Linked DNA regions of Homo sapiens: region 2 is linked to region 1. The links are contacts of gene promoters, found by promoter capture Hi-C in blood cells and fetal thymus (Javierre and others, 2016). All regions are on one chromosome and are shown on one strand. Each heading gives the region's core, a stretch centred on a gene start or on the middle of the fragment in contact. The rest is flanking DNA. Distances are from core to core; before and after follow the strand shown. Region 1 holds the start of APOA5 (apolipoprotein A5). Region 2 overlaps SIK3 (SIK family kinase 3).

Region 1 (5,172 bases), core at 2,039-4,538:
TGCTTTTCCAGTTTCCTAACAACAACAAAAACACCTTTTATTATTTCTACCTTTCTAGCACTTCCTCTCTCCAGGTGCTGGGTCCACAACCCAGTTCTGTTGCCAACATTGTCAAAATCCACGGTGTCAGGGAAGACCAGCCTGCAGGCATGATGAGCCTACATATGTGTGGGGTCTGTGCTATGGGGTTGGGGAGCAGGCAGGTGCTGAGAACCCGGGGACAGTAGGCTGAGCTGGGAGGAAAGGGGGCCGGACAGGGAAGTCCAAAGACAAGGAGCTGTGTTTACCCTTTCCACGTCCTCCACCACACCCCAGTTTCAGTTCCCAGGGGATCTATAGGGAGCATTGGTGCCCCTGAGTGAGGGGAGTCCCCAGAAGAGAGTCCGGCATAAAAAGAGGCCATTCAAACTCTAGAACAGCAGGAACAAAGGAGGCAGCCCACCTCAGGAATCTTAGGTCCACCAGGGCCACAGCTCTTCCAGACACAGCCTGCATTCCATGCACAGTGTCCTGTGGGGGAGCAGGCTAGTGAACAGTGCAGGTGCAGAGGAAGGGCCCGTAACCCAGGCCCTCCTGCCAGGTGTGACAGACAGCCGTTGTCTAGCCAGGATCCCTGAAGCAGAGCCCAGCCAGACCCCCTTTGACAGACCTGGACTGGGAGTGGGTGGATGAGAAAGAGCAGCAAGGGAATGGAGTGGGTGATGGGTGTGCTTTGGGGATAGTGGTGAGGCCACTGCTTTCAGACATGGTCCAAATGAGAGTCACGCCAGGCAAACTTCTATCATAAACATCTATTTCATTTGAGCCAGAAGTCTAGGCTTCAACTTGGGAACCCAGAGGGAGGGGCTGGAGATGGGGAGAGCACACAGTATGCTCCCCAGAGGGTTTAAGGAGCTCCCACAGTTGGGAGGGTTCAGTCCCTTATTTAGGTGTAGAGCTATGTCAGGAAACATGGGCTCTGCCCTCTCCTATCACAGCCCACACCTTTCGTACCCACCAGCATCAGAGCCAGCAGGGATATTCACACACCATCACATGTTCTCCCCATGATATTCTCTTTCTCCCTTCTATTCCCCTGATAGCTGCCATGGCAGCCCTGGGGAGACAAGTGCTCCTCTCTGTGGACCAGCTGTAGCAGTGGCCACCAGGCAGCCAGAAGTGACTAGAGCCAAACTCCAGGATGTAGTGGCACAGGCTTCCAGCATCACGGCAAACAGGCTTGCAGATAATCACCCACATGCATGGTGCCTCTCCCTCCCTACTCCCTCACCCTTGAATGGAGTAACTCATGAGCATTCCCAAATGAGCACTGGGAGGCTGGGTTTGCAAAGCCTGGTGAATGTAATGCATCCAGATTGGGGAGTCGCAGGAGGCTGGATGTGCAGGAGACAGCAGCCCCTTTGGTGGCCTCCCTGTCCTGCACAGGACCTTCCACCCTCCACCCAACAGGCCACTTTCAAGGACTGAACCATGCTAGAGGCTCAGAGCCAAGGCTCCCCAGACAAGGAGCTGGGAATGGGCCTGGGCAGGTAGATCCTCAGGGGTCCCCCAGATGGCTGTGGCCCTGGTCATGAAGGCTGTGAGTGATGTCTTCCCACAGGTCATCCAGACGGGCCTGCAGCTTGCTCAGAACCTTGCCACTGTCTGTTTGTTGAAACTCTGGGGCGAAGGCACTGTGGCCTGGTGGAGGTGGCGCCAGCTGCTGCTGGACCTCCTCAGTCTCCTGGTCGATGGCGCGAGTGAAGGCAGCTATCTGCAGGTAGGTGTCCTGGCGGAAAGCCTGAAGTCGCTGGCGCACCTCCTCGGAGAGCATCTGGGGGTCCGGGCCGGCCCCTTCCTCAGTCCCAGTGCCTGCAAAGGCTCTGCTGAGCTCTTCGCGCAGCTGGTCCAGGTTCTGCTGGATGCGTGCGTGCAGGGCCTTGGCCTTGAGCGTGAGCTTCCGGGAGAGCACCTGCACGCAGCGACTGAGGCGCGCGGGGCTGGCGGGGGCGTGCGGAGCCACACTGCGGTGCAGCTCCTGCACGTGGCGCCCGATGCCGCTCACCAGGCTCTCGGCGTATGGGTGGAAGAGCTCTTTGAAGCGGCCGGTGTGGTGCACCACGCGGCTCTGCAGTCCCTGCAGCAAAGCCCAAGCCTCGTCCACGCCCCCCAGCAACTGGGCCTTGGTGTCTTCCCCCACCACGCGCAACTGCTCCTGCAGCTCCTGCACGCGCAGGGCCACCTGCTCCATCAGATCCATCGTGTAGGGCTTCAGTTGCTGCCGCAAGCCCTCCAAATTCCAGCCCACCAGCTCGTGCGCCTCTGCCATGTAGGGCTGGAGGCGAGCCTTCACCTCCTCCAACTCCTCCTGCAGCTGCCGCCGCATGCCCACCGGGTCCTGTGGGAGCCGAGGAGCCTCGCTCCCACTCAGAGGCCTCAGCTTTTCCAGGAACTTGTTCATATTGTTGAGGTCTTGCTCAAGGCTGTCTTTCAGGGTCCTGGAGAAGGGGACAGATATCCAGGCCGTCAGACTGCTAGCCTCCATCATCTCCTTTGTCCCCAAGTCATCGCGCACTGATCCTCTGGGGGAACCAAGGACGCAGGGCGTTGGCCCCAGGGTCGAGGGCTCTTGTCCTAGCCCTGGCCAGTAACAACTCACGCACGAAGCACAAACACATTGCCCATACAAATCCAGACCTACAACACTCTCCAAAGAAACATAGATGCGCCACATCATCCTTTGATTCTGGGGACTGCAGCGGGCGTCCTCCCGATTGATCCCAGGTCCCGCGCCTCAGTGAGCAAGGGGGCAACAGCTACGGAGTTGTCAAGGCGGGGGCTGCAGGCAGAGGGCGCTAAAGAGCCCAGGATGGCCGGGATCTGCAGACAGAGCTAGCACCGCTCCTTTCCTCTGTCCCAGCAGCGGCCACAGAGGTTGAGGCAGCAGAGGCAGGTCATCATGGCATGGCCCAGCTGTCTCCTCCCTTCGCCTACACCCCTTCCCCTGGGCACTCACGCGGGCTCGCGAGCCATCTTCTGCTGATGGATCTGCTCCACCCTGCCTTTGTCCCCGCTGGTCTGGCTGAAGTAGTCCCAGAAGCCTTTCCGTGCCTGGGTGGCCGAAAACGCTGTGGAGAGGGACTAGGTAATCAGGGCCTGGGCTCTCCTCCCCCAGGGTGGACAGGGCCCTCTGGCCAGCCTCCACCCACACCCCCACGTTGAAGTCAGGGTCGGAGACCCACCTGAAAGAAGAGCCAGAGCCCAGGTGAGCACGGCAGCCATGCTTGCCATTACCTGCTCTGAGAAGACAGGTGGAGGGAGGCCTGGTTAGGGGAAGAAGGAGACGAAGGGACATGGCGCAGGGGACTTGCCCAGGGGGCCTCTGCAGGGGCAACTGCCCGAAATCCTGTTACCCCTTCCTTGGGCTGGGGAGCACAGAGCTGTTGGGGCTCAAGAGGACTGACCTAGGTGAGTCAAGGAGGCTAGGGTGTCTTCCTCAGACATGGGAAGAGGGCGTGCTCTTGCTACCTCAGTCACATAGCAGGGAGCGTGGTGCTCTAACCCCTTCGCAAAGGTCCCAGACCCCAGGAACAGTTCTCTAGGCCACTTCTACCACCTCTCCCCTGCCCACCTGTCTCCCTCCCTCCCATTTCATGGTGGAAAAACTGAGCCATAATGAGGGCGAAGAGGCAACTCTGCCAAAATGTTCCAAGAGGACGTCTTAGGGGCCACCCCAGGCTCTCCCCTGAGGCCACCTGCAATGCCCTCCCTTAGGACTGTGACCCCCATCCCTCTGCCCCAGCTGCTCACCTGCTCACGTCTGGGCACAGAGAGCAGACATTCTGCTTTATACTCCAGGGCCCTGAGCCTCTGGCACCAATTGCTCTGAGTAAATACCACGTGGAAGTTCAAAAGAAGTTGACCTCAGCTGCCTCCCAGCACTCACCTCCTGCCCTTTCCCTGGCACCCAGAGGGTTAATGAGTGCCCTGGTATCAGGGGCTGCCCCAGTAGAGAAGTGCTTCCCAGGAGCTTTACGGGGGATGGGGCTGAACTCCTCACCCAGTTTCTCCCAAACCCCATGACCTTTAACCTTCCCACTGACCTGCTGGCTGGCCCACCAACAGAGAAGAACCTGTTTGTCTGCCAAGGGCCCCTCTCTTACACAACTACCCAGAGTCACTGTGTCCCAGCCGGCAAGATGGACAGTGTTCACCTACCAGCCAGAACCCGAGCAGCCCCTGAAAGCTTCACTACAGGTTCCGCAGGCATCCTCAGCCAGCATTCATAGGGTTAAAGACCAACCACATCCCTCTTTATGAAACAATCCTGGAACAAGCAAGGGAAGCCAGGCAGGGTGAAGATGAGATGGCAAGAGGCATCTGGGCCAGGGACTCTGAGCCCCAGGAACTGGAGCGAAAGTGAGATTTGCCCCATGAGGAAAAGCTGAACTCCACTCGCAGGGCCTCTGAGGAGAGCAAGCCCAAATGCTCAGATCTTCTCTGATGACACACCCACTCCGTCTACAGTACTCATACACACGTTCACAAGCTCCCGATTCTTGGTCCTAAATGCATCTTGAATCAATCCCCTCTCCTCCATTTCCACTACCATCATTGCACCAGTTGTCTGTCACCTTGATTGCATTCATAGCCTCCAACAGGTCTTTCTACCACACTCCTGCCCATTTAATTCATCCTCCACTGTGGCTCATCCTGACTCATTTCCAGTCTCATCTGCTGCCACATAAAACCACGGCATTCCCTGAGCCTTTATACAGGCTTCCCTCTGCTTGAAATAGCCTATCCCCTGGTGAATATATATTCATTTTTTAGAGTTAGTTTGTATTAGTTAGAATTAGACTTGGCTGCAAGGGACATATATATGTGTGTATATATATACACACACACATGTATATTTTATATTCTTGCATACATATATGTATATATATGTGTGTGTGTATATATACACATATATATATACAAGATACTGCTCTTACCACTCATACTGACATCCCATTGGCCACAAGTTAGTCACATGGCTACACTTAGCTGATATATATGTGTATATATATATGCAAGAGAATAGCTTAAACAAAATGGAGTCTTATTTCCTTCTCATGTAAATGTAGGCCAGCTCGGGCTGCTTTTATCTTGTTGCACTATTATCATCAACAAGACGCTCATATCCAAGTT
Region 2 (5,491 bases), core at 277-2,776, 110 kb after region 1:
GAACATTTAAATTATCCGTGTGGGAAAGCCTCAAATTATTACCATGTACTAAATCTGGAAGTCATTTTGAAAATTCAGTGCCTTCCAATCAATACTTCTGGGACTGAGTAACTGTGATGGGAGAATACCTCCTCTTCATTCTCTTAGCTGCTTGCCTTTGGGGACATTTTGCTGCACATTTTAAGAGGACTGGAAAGAAAAATACAGTTAAAACAAACTAGTCTATTTTAGGTTCTGTTGATAGTTTAGTGATGTACTAGGGGAATGCTGGGGTGTGTGGTAGGAAATGGAGGTGGGGAACAGATAGACATGGAACAGAATCACTAAGAGCTTTGCTGTTTTCAGTTATCTACATGTATAGACAACTGGAAAAAATTGAAAGATCATCCAAGTTGGAGGAAAAAAATTCTCATAACACAAATTCAAGCAATGAGTAAAAAAGAATGAGGAAGAATTCTCACTGGCTTAAGTCAGAAATGCCAAAGAAAAAGGTAAAGAAAAACTTTTTTTTTGGAGATGGAGTCTTGCTCTGTTTCCCAGATGGGAGTGCAGTGGCACAATCATAGTTCACTGAAGCCTTTACCTCCTGGGCTCAAGCCATCTTCCTGCCTCAGCCTCCTAAGTAGCTGGGACTTCAGGCAAACACCACCATGCCTAGCTATTTAAAAAAAATTTTTTTGTAGTGATGGGGGTCTTGCTATGTTGTCCAGGCTGGTCTCAAACTCCTAGGCTCAAGCGATCCTCCTGACTAGGCCTTCGTAAGTGCTGGGATTACAAGCAACAGCCACTGCACCAAGCCAAGAAAAGCTTTAGAGCTTAAGTTTGATCTGAACTTGAACCTAGAAAACCATTTCTATTTAATAGGCTTTTTCATCTTATTTTGGCTCTGGAGCTACTCTAATTCACAATATCTTTCATTATTTACTAAAGCTTCCTATTCTTAATGTCTCTTTTATAAGTCTCTAAGTAAGTTCCTCCATTTCCTTCACTCTTTATGTAACATGTATTTATGGAACTCTTCCAATGGGAATAGCAATGTGTTAGATCTTCTAACAAACCAAAGGCATAAAACATAGTTCTAGGGAAAGGCTCAAAGGAAGCAGAACTTGGTTGAATGGCCAGGATCTGGAGAGGCAATGAAGGAAGGTGGAAAGGGTGCTCTGAATGGCAGTCAGGAGGGAGCACGAGCAAGGGCAGAACACTTAGAATTAACTCGCTAAGTTCAAGTGACAAGCAAGACACTGCCCTGGGTACAATAAAGGGTTTGTAGGGGCATATGGCAAGAAATAAAGAGTGCACAGCAGCATCATGCCAGATAAAATACAGCTTCAAATGACAGAATGAAGACCTTGGACTTCATCCTGTGAACCATTACTATTTTTTCTTTCCTTTTTTTTTCCTCCACATTTAAAAATTTTATTAGACTTCAGATACAAAAAAACTTGATTATGAATTTATTATAACCTTTGGCTCATGACACACTCTCCATGCTCCACTCATTTACTGCTTTTATTTCAATTGTTTTTTCCCTACAGCATTATTGAGATAAGGAATACGAAATATATTACTTCATATTCTTAATGTCTCTTTTATAAGTCTCTCATAAAATATTTTCTTATAAAATGTTATTCTTTTTTCTTTTTAATTTTTAAATTTTAAAACATAGAATAAAATAGAGACAGGGTCTTGCTGTGTTGCCCAGGCTGGTCTCGAACTCCTGAGCTCACATGATCCTCCCACCTCGGCCTTCCGAAGCGCTGGGATTACAGGCATGAGCCGCTGCACCTGGCCATAACATATTTCTTGTATTCCATATCCCATACAATTCACGCATTGAAAGTGTAATGCCCAGCGGCTTTTAGCGCATTCACAGAGTTGTGCGACGATGACCACAATCAGTTTTAGAACATTTTTCACCTTGTAAGGAAAAGGCAGTGAAAAAACCAAAGAAGAAATTTTAGAACATTTTCATCACCCCAAAAAGAAACCCTGTGCTAATTAGGAGTTACTCCCCAACACCCTTCAAGTCTTTCACCAATGGCCCAGCCCTAGGCTTTCTACTTTCTGTCTCTATGAGACTTGTCAATTTTGGACATTTCACATAAATGGAATCATACAATATATAAGCTTTAGTGTCTGGCTTCTTTCACTGAGCATAATATTTTGGAGGTTCATCCATGTTGTTGCCTATGTCAGCACTTGAGTCTATTTTACTGCTGAATAACATCCATGGTATGGACATTCCACATTTTATTTATCCATTCATCATCTGTTGAACATTCAGGTTGTTTCCACTTTGCAGCGACTAAAAATAATGCTGCTATGAACATTTATGTGAGTTTCTGTGTGGCCATATGGTTTCATTTCTCTTGGATATATACCTGGGAGTGGAACTGCTGGGTCATATGGTAACTCTGCTTAACTTTTTAGGAAGTATCCAAACTGCTATCCAAAGTGGCCGTACCATTATACATCCCTACCAGCAACGTACAAGGATTCCAATTTCTCCACATCTTTGCCAACACTTATTGTCTTTATTATTATTACTTATTATTGTCAATTCAGCTGTCCCAGTGGATGTGAAATGATATCTTACAGTGGTTTTCATTTATATTTCCCTGATGGCTAATAATATTGAGCATCTTTTCATGTGCTTTTCAGCCATTTGTATATCTGCTTTGGAGAAATGTCTATTCAAATCTTTTGTGCAGTTTAAAATTGGTTATCTTTTTATTATTGAGTTGTGAGTGTTCTTTATACATTCTGGATACAAATCTCTTATTAGATATATGATTTGCAAATATTTTCTCCCATTCTGTGGACTTTCATTATCTTGATGATGTCCTTTGATGCACAAAAGTTTTAAATGTTGATGAGGTCCAACTTATCTGTATTTCCTTTTGTCACTTATGCTTTTGGTGTGAATATAAAGGTACCAGTAAAACACAGTTCTTTCTGAAGAGGTTTGAGAGCCACACTTACAGGCAATAAGGAGTTGCTAGGACTTCTGAGCAGGCAGGTGAAGTGGTAAAATAAACTAGAAAGCAAGATTAGGTTAGGTGTGAGGTGAATATTGAAGGCTGTGATCAGATGAGATATTGAAAATGAAAAAAACAATTCAAAAGATGTTCTGAAAGGAGCGGACAGTACTTGATAACAAACAGAATATATGGGATGAAAAAGAAGGAGAAGTAGAGAATATGGCCCTGAGCAGATGACAGACTTAAGGAAAGCAGAAGTTGGTTTGGGAAGAAAAAAAATTACTTTTTCTTTATGTCCTGAGTTTGAGAAGGTGATCAGAAATTTAAGTGAAGATATTCTGAGAAACTGAATTATAGTAGTAAAAGGATAAAATATTTTTGAAAGAAAAAGTAGAGAAAAGGGAAGGATGAGAATTAAGGCTTCGAAAACACCCAGAGGTACTTCCTATTCCCTAGGTGCGAGAACAGAAAGAGGATGCAGCAAAAAGGAGAGAGAAAGCGCGGCTAAAGGAAGAAAGTCAGGAAAATGTAACAAGGAAGCCGAGAGAGCAGAAAAGCAGAAAAAGGTGGCTTACAGCATCCATGTAATCTCATCCAAGTGTTATGTAACTTTGATCTGAGGGAAAACAAATGATGACATAATTATTCTCGATGAGAAATGGTATCATTTTCCCCTCAGAATTTTTGTTTATTTGTTGTAAAGACAGGCTACATCACAGAAATGGACTACAAATATAATCCAGATCCATTCAGAGTTATCTACAATGTCAAGCTGTGAATAAAATTAGGCATTTCTTACCAAGATTGATGACAACCAACAGATACTAATCCTAAGTTATATACAAATATATTCAGAGTACTTAGAAACGAACGTCGTGGCCATGCAGGTGAGTGGCAAGAGCCCTGGAGGGAGCCATGTATCCCAGAAAGACTTGGAACTGGACTGTCCTTGACTCATCTCTCCAGTGCAACAGTTTTCCTATTTGTGCTGCACTTTGCAGTATTAAACAGTTGTTTTTCAAAGGACCTTCTGTTGAGTGCTGCGCTACAGCACCTTGTATTTATTACCTCATTGAGATGAGCATTATTTTTGTTTTATGCCTGAGACGTGAGGTTCAAAAGTAACATTCCCAAGTATAAAGGTTAAAGAAAAATTAGTATGAATCAGATGCAGCCTATAACGCCAGTTCTCAGTGCCCTCAAAATCCAGCCCCACATTGTGCTTTCAGCATCATGTATGTGTTTATATTTAAGTTCACGTACATCCCATAATTATTTTTATTGAAATTTAAAAATTTGCCAGGCACAGTGGCTCACACCTGTAATCCCAGAACTTTGGGAGGCCAAGGCTGGCGGATCACTTGAGGTCAGGAGTTTAAGACCAGCCTGGCCAACACGGCAAAACCCCGTCTCTACTAAAAATAAAAAATTAGCCAGGTGTGGTGGCAGGTGCCTGAAATCCCAGCTACTCGGGAGGCTGAGGCAGGAGAATTGCTTGAACCCAGGAGGCGGAGGGTTGCACCAGAGTCGAAATTGCACCCTGCACTCTAGCCTGGGTGACAAGAGCAAAACACTGTCTCAAAAAAACAAAAAACTTGCAAATTCCTTAGTTATTACAGTTTACTGTTTTTCATTTTATTATTGACTGCCACCCTTTGCTCTGCTTATGTTAATTCCCAAAGACACATAATGCTTCAGGAATACTGCGTCAAGTTTCTTTTAAAAACATGCATAGAAAAGAATGGTAGACACTGTATATCAATGGGAAAAGGATAAATTTCTCAAAAAGTGGCACAGGAACAACTCGTTATTCATATGGAAAAAAATTACAGAGGCTGCCATCCTCACACTCTATCCCCAAATTAATTCCAGGTGGATTATAGCCCTAATGTGAAAGGTAAAACTATCACGTTTTTATTTAAAAAAAAAAAAAAAAAGCAGGTATCTTTACGGCCTCAGGGGATGGAAGAATTTCTCAAACAAGAAACAAAAAGTGCTAATCATAAAGGGAAAAGTGGTAAACTTCGTTACATTAGAATTATGCCAAAATTTATACACACGTTAAACAGAAAGTGAGAAACCACAAAGTGAGGGAGGATATTTGTAACTTATAAAATAAAGGACTCGGCTGGACGTGGTGGCTTACTCCTGTAATCCCAGCATTCTGGGAGGCCAAGACAGGAGGATTGCTTGAGCTCAGTAGTTTAAGACCAGCCTGGGCAAATACAGGGAGACCTCGTCTTCACAAAAACTAAATATAAATTAGCCAGGCATGGTGGTGTATGCCTGTGGTCCCAGCTACTCGAGAGGCTGAGGCAAGAGGATTGCCTGAGCCTAGGAAGCCGAGACTGCTGTGGGCTGTGATCACGCCACTGCACTGCAGCCTGGGTGATGGAGTGAGACCCTATCTCAACAACCAACCAACCAATCAATCATCAAAAAACAAAAAACAAACAAACAAAAAAAACAAAGGACTTGTATCCAGACTATCAAAAAGAAACAAACTCCTA

The links. Contacts are between HindIII fragments. The CHiCAGO score rates a contact against its expected background, and 5 or more counts as called.
Region 2: a contact is called between a fragment that was not itself captured here and the fragment with the promoter of APOA5 in region 1, in 8 of 17 cell types (naive CD8 T cells, naive CD4 T cells, activated CD4 T cells and 5 more). The highest score is 7.7, in naive CD8 T cells.

The regions. Positions count from the first base shown.
Region 1 is chr11:116,788,591-116,793,762 of GRCh38, forward strand. APOA5 (apolipoprotein A5) reads right to left here and starts at 3,289. Exons shown (of 3, transcript NM_001371904.1): 1 at 3,222-3,289; 2 at 2,996-3,107; 3 at 777-2,477. The coding sequence starts at 3,270. The coding sequence ends at 1,538. The HindIII fragment of the contact is 6,000 bases long and covers 1-4,223 here.
Region 2 is chr11:116,903,087-116,908,577 of GRCh38, forward strand. All of the region lies in intron 4 of SIK3 (SIK family kinase 3), which reads right to left. Among named protein-coding and RNA genes, the nearest start is that of APOA1, 68 kb to the left of the region's middle. The HindIII fragment of the contact is 1,197 bases long and covers 929-2,125 here.